2 separate regions of the Homo sapiens genome follow, and region 1 is linked to region 2. The links are contacts of gene promoters, found by promoter capture Hi-C in human tissues and cell types (Jung and others, 2019). All regions are on one chromosome and are shown on one strand. The core of a region is centred on a gene start or on the middle of the fragment in contact, and the rest is flanking DNA. Distances in the headings are between cores, read along the strand shown. Region 1 has its middle 28 kb from the start of PLXNB1. Region 2 holds the start of SLC26A6 (solute carrier family 26 member 6).

What was found. Contacts are between HindIII fragments. The study calls those that stand out against the background at their distance.
Region 1: a contact is called between a fragment that was not itself captured here and the fragment with the promoter of SLC26A6 in region 2, in 1 of the 25 tissues and cell types used here (spleen).

Annotation. Positions count from the first base shown.
Region 1 is chr3:48,400,171-48,403,440 of GRCh38, forward strand. No RefSeq gene overlaps it. Among named protein-coding and RNA genes, the nearest start is that of PLXNB1, 28 kb to the right of the region's middle. The HindIII fragment of the contact is 5,455 bases long and covers 1-3,270 here.
Region 2 is chr3:48,633,372-48,636,808 of GRCh38, forward strand. It overlaps SLC26A6 (solute carrier family 26 member 6), which reads right to left and starts at 2,090. Exons shown (of 21, transcript NM_022911.3): 1 at 2,000-2,090; 2 at 106-264; 3 at 1-19. The coding sequence starts at 2,022. CELSR3 (cadherin EGF LAG seven-pass G-type receptor 3) reads right to left here. Exons shown (of 35, transcript NM_001407.3): 35 at 3,092-3,437. It overlaps MIR6824 (microRNA 6824), which reads right to left and starts at 327; the gene lies at 265-327. RefSeq lists silencers at 1,529-1,628, 2,019-2,298. The HindIII fragment of the contact is 9,287 bases long and covers 1,128-3,437 here.

The DNA of each region.
Region 1 (3,270 bases), core at 337-2,836, 230 kb before region 2:
TAACTACTCCCCTTTTTGTCCTTCACACACTTTCATAATCAATCCCTTATATTTAAATTCCTTCCATTGGAAACACCTAGAGTGGTTTCTGGTTTTTTGTTGTTGTTGTTGTTGTTTTCTTTTTGAGACAGAGTCTCATTCTGCTGCTCAGGCTGGAGTGTGGTGGCATAATCTCAGCTCAGGCTGGAGTGTGGTGGCATAATCTCAGCTCAGGCTGGAGTGTGGTGGCATAATCTCAGCTCACTGAAACCTCTGCCTCCCAGGTTCAAGTGATTTTCCTTCCTCAGCCTCCCCAGTAGCTGGGATCACAGGTGCACACAATCACACCCGGCTAATTTCTGTATTTTCAGTAGAGATGGGGTTTCACCATGTTGATCAGGGTGGTCTCGAACTCCTGACCTCAAGTGATCCACCCACCTTGGCCTCCCAAAGTGCTGGGATTACAGGTGTGAGCCACTGTGCCCGGCTGTTTTCTTGACTAGTCACTCACTGTTATCTCAACTATGTCCTAAGACATAGCTCACCCTAAAACCAGAATTCACGTTAAAGACAGGGTAAGATTACTCACTAAGCTCCAGCACTACTGAATTCCACTGTTGTGATTTCTCTCTCTCTTTTTTTGAAGAGACAGGGTCTCACTGTCACCCAGTCTGGAGTGGAGTGGCATAATCTTTCACTGCAGCCTCAAACTCCTGGAGTCCAGCAATCCTCCCACCTCAACCTCTTAAATAGCTGAGACTACAGATGTGTGCTACCATGCCCAGCTAATTTTTAAACAGTTTTCGTAAAGATGGGGTCTGGCTATCTTGCCCAGGCTTGCAATTTATAGAGCTCCAGACACCCTCATTGGTAGCTGCTTCTGATAAATTCCACACTATGGCCAGAAGATGGCAGCAAACCACCAGCTTCAGCCACTTACCTGTGGCCCAGGACACCGGACCAGGTTTCCAAAATCTGAGCTTCACATTCCTAGACCTCCAGAGGTTCTCTTCATGGCCACCTGGACAACTGGCAAACCATTCTGTTTCCTTACACGTGCACATATCATCCAGATAACTGAAACTCTTATCAATAAAACCCCAACATCACAACCAGGGCATAAATTCTCTTTCAAACATCATGGTGATATCCTTATCTTAGATTTTTGGTAAACATTTGGAATTGGATAAACCATCATCCTTAATTAAGACAGAGAACACTTTTTTTTTTTTTTTTTTGAGATGGAGTTTTGCTCGTCACCCAGGCTGGAGTGCAGTGGCGCGATCTCGACTCAGTGCAACCTCCGCCTCCCGGGTTCAAGCGATTCTCCTGTCTCAGCCTCCTGAGTAGCTGGGATGAGAGGCGCCCGCCACCACACCTGGCTAATTTTTTGTATTTTTAGAAGAGACGGGGTTTTGCCATGTTGGGCAGGCTGGTCTCAAACTCCTGACCTCAGATGATCCGCCTGCCTCGGCCTCCCAAAGTGTTGGGATTACAGGGGTGAGCCACTGCGCCTGGCCGACAGAACACTTTTAAAGAGAGATCCATAAAACATCGCCAGTCAGCTGACCTAGGTAGTTTGGGGTGTATTTGTTCTTCAATGTGGCATCCTTAGGGAACCTGGTGGAGGAAACACATGCATCAGCAGCCATTGGTGCCAAGCAGAACACAGCTAGGTTCCCTGTATCCCCCAGCACCACCCAGAGTCACCTGTTGGCACTGGCCAGTGGGATCCAGGTCCTGACCATTTGGAAGGTTTCAGGTGGCTTCTAAGAATTCCAACATTCATCAGCATAAATTCAGCTGTTATCTTAATTAGCACGATTATTTCAGTATCAGAAAATTAATAAAAATATAGAACTCCTGGGTCATGTAACCATTTGGACAATTATTCCAACTTTTAAGTTGGTGAAAACGCTTTTTAATAAAGCACATCACTCCATAAAACGCCTTAAGGAGCCCCGGGTGGTAATGAGAAACAAAGGCCCTTTGTATGCTAACAGGTTTGTGAAAAATGTAATAATGAGGGCACACTTTCGTTGCAGTCTTAATAAAAATTAGGAAAAGATTGATCAAACTGAATTACAAATGTTCTATGCTGAAATTGTGGTCATGACCCAAGTTAAGCGATCACAAATTCTTGCTGGTGTTGGAATCTCCATTCTTGGTCATGGTTTGGAGTGAAGACAGAATTTCCTATCTTCTTGTGCCAGGTTTTTCTTCTCTATGTCTGTTATTATAACAATGTTCTGTGGCGGCTGAGCCATGACTCAGTGAGTGACTCAAAGCACGTTCAGTACTCACCCCTCCCGCGGGCACGTGCCCAGGCTTGCAGGCACATGGCCCCCCTCTCCCGGGAGCCTTCACCTACCCCTAAAACCTGCAGGGGCCTGAACCTGGAACAGAGAGGCCTCTGGAACAGAGGCATGGCTCTGTCGAGGTCTGTGGTGCTGACCAAGGCTGCTTCCCTCTGTGTCTGCTTGAAGTCCACCCTCAAGTGGATTTCCCATCCACCCTGCTCCCAGAGATGGTCAAGATGGAGACCCATTCCATGGTCTCCAACGGGAAAAGTCAGGACCATTCTGGGTGGCTATGAAAACCTGGCCAGAGCATCCAAGCTCACATGCTCCCAAATGATGGCACCTGGCTGCTGACCTGACTGTGGTCCCCACATCCGGCAGAAATGGGAAAGAAGGGACAATGGAGCCACAGCGAAGAATAGCAGCTATGACTACCCCCGGCACAGACAAGACCAACATGGCTCCTTAGGGACAAGGACTTTGTGGATTGTAGGGGCAACCCTACAGTGGATGGCTTTATTTAGGGCCAAAAAAAGGCAGGGGATAGGAGTCCTCCTGGAATTCTATCAGTCTGTCTCTCTCTAAACACTCAATGAAGACCTCGAGGGGAGGTTGTGGTCTCTGTGCCAGACGAGAGGAAATGCTAAGGGTCACTGGGTTATGGAGGATAAGCAGAGGGCCAAAGGGATGATCCCTCTGAAGGCCTCAAGGCTGAAGGGCCTTCCTCTCATCTGCCAGGCAGAGCTGCCACCCTATCTCTTCTGTTCCATGGGGGGCTGGCCTTCTGCTAAGGCCGAGGGTGGTCTCAAGTCAAGAGGAGTATCAACCCCCTGCCCTACAGACCCAACTAGCAACATGAGACCAGATAAGACAGTCTCCAAGCTCACCTCCAGGTACAAATCAGGAAGAACCATATAAGGCGGCCTTCATGGAGGCAGACAGTTTAGGAGCCGGCCCTAGGATGCCCTGATTTGGAAGGCAACACAGAAAC
Region 2 (3,437 bases), core at 840-3,339:
GGCCCGAGCACGGGAGCACCTAGGGACATGATATGAGGGGTAGGTGTCAGGAACAGGGGCTACCTGGGCCCCGCCAGCGCCCCCAGGCCCCAATCTTGGCCTTACTGCAACCAGGTCCGCCACTGGTGGGTCCTAGGTGCTGAGCCCCAGCGCCCCAGCTCCTCCAAATGCTCCTGGTTCAGCAGCGGCCGTTCCATGTGGTAGTCTCGCCTCCGCAGGTCCATTGCTTGTGTTGCAGACAGCAGTGCCTGTGTGTCCCTCGGTCTGGGGTGGCAAGACCAGAGAGACACAGTGAAGGCATCCCTGGCCCAACCTCCCCTACACCTCCACCTAGGACCAGAGAGTTACCTACCTGATTTTTCCAGGCCCTAAGATCAAGGTACAGTATTCCAGCCCCCAGCTGGCATCTGTGGGCCACATGTCCAAACTCAGACAGGGGCAGTACCTGAACTTTGGCTGGTGAGAAAGCCTCTTTCTAGGACAAAGTCCCCCAAGTAGGGACTGCAGGATGAGCACTAGCTATACCTCCAGCCGAGATGTGGCAGCCCAGTGCTGAGTGTTCTACCAGTCCAGGTCCCAGGCTGCTCCCTCCCCCACCCAGTCCCTCTCCAGTCCCCAGGTCCTCCTCCAGCTGCCCCGGGAGCCCACTGCTGGCTGAGAGCACACTCAGGGAAGGGGTCCAGCAAACCAGGGGTCCAGCTCCTCAAGCAACTCCTTTCCCAAGCCTCAGGCCTCAGATGAGACCCTCCCCTCTAAGGGAAGGAAAGTGTTGGAGCCAAGCTTGCCCCTGGGCCTCCAGCCCCAGGGTCCAGGTTGTAGACGGCTCAGGCCTGTTATGGGGAAGCCAAGGACTGGCTCTCACCTGAGAAGGAGCTTGCTCTTGGAGTGGCAATCTCTCACCTAGAGGGAGAGGCTCCCACATGGAAAGGGAAGTACCCACTTGAAGTGGGGGAAAGAGCTCACCTGGGAATAGAAGCTTTCAAGGGGAATCTCACCTAGAGGGATCTCTGACCTACCAGGGAATCTTTATCAGCCTGGCAAGTTCTGATACAGGGGGAATCTTCCCTCTGCCCAGAGGCACCTACTTGAAGTCAGAGAAAGATCTCACATGGGAAGAAAAGACCTAGAGGGAGAGGGTTCTCACCTGGGGGGTACTCTCCCATAGAGAAAGCTCTGACCTCGGGCGAGGCTCCCACGTGGAATGGGGAAAAGCTGTCACCTGGGAATAGATCTCACAGAAGGATCTTACCTGGGGGAAAACTCTAGCCTGTTGGGGAAGCTTTCACCAGTCAGGAAAGTTCTGATCTAGGAAAAGCCCTGACCTGGGGAGAGGATCCCATTTGAGGGACAGGAACTCACCTGGGAAGCGCCTCTAACCTGGCTGTACTGTTGGAGGAGTGTGGAGTGGGTGCAAGGAAGATCCTCAGAGACTCTTGGGACCGCTATCTCAAGGAGATCGTAGAGCCCCCTCTCCTTTCCTACGTGAGTCACTCAGGTCTTCTTAAAGGGCTCCCTCCCCCGACAACTTGGGACCCGCGTTTGGAGGGCGGAGCCTTGATCATTGGCCCCTCCCTGTAGGAAGGCAACTGGGGCCAGAAAGGCCGGAGCGCTCACTCCGGGATCAGTGGAGCTGGGTGGACTCGGGACTCAGCTGAAAGCAGCTAGTCCACGGGCCGCTGCCAGGGACTCCCGTGCCCCACGCACCCCCGCCGGCACATCTCCTGGCCGGGCTCCTCCGCACGCAGCTGCCTCCCTGTGGCCCGGGATGGCCCTCGGGCGTCACACCAGCGGCTTTCCGCACAGCCCAAGGGACTGGGGTCGCGCCGGCTCCCGCCCCCACCCCTTGCTGCAGAGGGGCAGCCGCCTGCAGAAAATCAGCAGAGGTAAACCGAGGCGTCGCAAGCGGAGAATGCCTGCTCCAGCGAGGCGTCGCAAGCGGAGAATGCCTGCTCCAGCGAGGCGCTCGCGCGGGGCCACCGGGAATGTGCGCTGAACTCACCCCGACGCATCCGCCAGCCCCATGGCTCGCAAGTTGTCCGGTGCGGGCTGCTCCTGCTGCTCGAGCTAGAGGCCGCTACGCTCCGGAAGGCGGCGCCGGGACCGGGTGAGGCCAGCTGCGCTCTCCCGGGGGCTAATCCCGGGGCAGGACGGGGAGGCTTGGGCCAATCAGCGCGCTGGGGCGGGGCCTAAGTGGCGCGCGCCGGGCGGGGAGAGACTGGAGAAGGAGGATTTAACCGCTTCCTCCCCGGCGACCTGGCCTATGAGGCCTCTCGCTGCTCGCCCGGCCCTCTGCCCGGAGCTGGATGGGACTGCAGAACTGGAACTAAGCACCCGCGCCGGGCTGGCCGCAGTCGCGCCCCCAGGCCCTGAGTAGGTTGGAGCTGATCCCAGGTCCTGGCTCGGCGGAAGGTGCTCACGGAGTGGGAAAAGGAAACTCCACTGGCCGGTGACCCCAGCCTTAACTCGTAGGGGATCCAGGTCTGTGGGGCCTCTCTTGCCTTCAGCTGAGAGCGCCACCCGCAGGCTTTCTGCGACTACGCATCTCTTTGAGACCCGGAGCCAACGGTCCCCAAGTCCTCCCCTTTAACTCTGGCCACCCAGGCCAGAAATGGTTGGAGGATCCCCTCCGCTGCACTAAGCACAGCCCGGACGTAGCTCCCAGAAGGTTACTGCGCGGGCCGCCGAGGAGAATGGTGGGGGTCAGTGCTGTTGGGTGGGCGTCAGTGCTGTTGGGTGGGCAAGGCAGGAACTGCAAGAGCAGTTCCTCAGGTTGGTTTCACCGCAGGTGAGGGCAAAAAATGCCGGGTCAGGGCTGCAGACCCTGAAGAATTAGGAAGTCCTGTTGCCGTTGCCTTGACCAGCGGGGAGGTTTTCCTTAGCACCTTATTTTCAGCACCTGTGCTCCAACATCAGGCCCCAATTACAAAGTGAGGGGCCAGATTTCAAGGTGAAAGAGATCTGCCATGAAATGGGCTAAAAATAGCTGGATATTCTTGGGAGGGGCTCAGATTCCTCCCAAAGGTCAGTCTGGCTTGAATCATTCACAGCTTCCATCCTACCTCCCCAGCCCCCAACAGGAAAAGGCAACAACTGTTTTCTATAGAAGTTTATTCCCAAAACAGAGCGCGGCTTCACGGAACAATTTACACAGACAGGAAAGAGGGCCGCTGGGCTGGAGGAGGGGAACCCCAGAGAGGGGCATCTACGAAACCTAGGACATAGTAAAGACACCCTCCCACCCCCAGCAGGCCACTCAGCCCTTCAAGAGCTGGGGTCCTTCTCGGTAAGGAGAGTTTGGGTCCTGGCTGGTGGGATTTAGCTCCAGTCAGGGAAGTAGAATTTCTAATCTCCCAGGAAGCTGCTTCCCAAGAGTATGCATGGGGTGGTGGGTGAGGAGGTGTCTGCACAGACCACCCCCCAGCCCTGCACAGCCACTC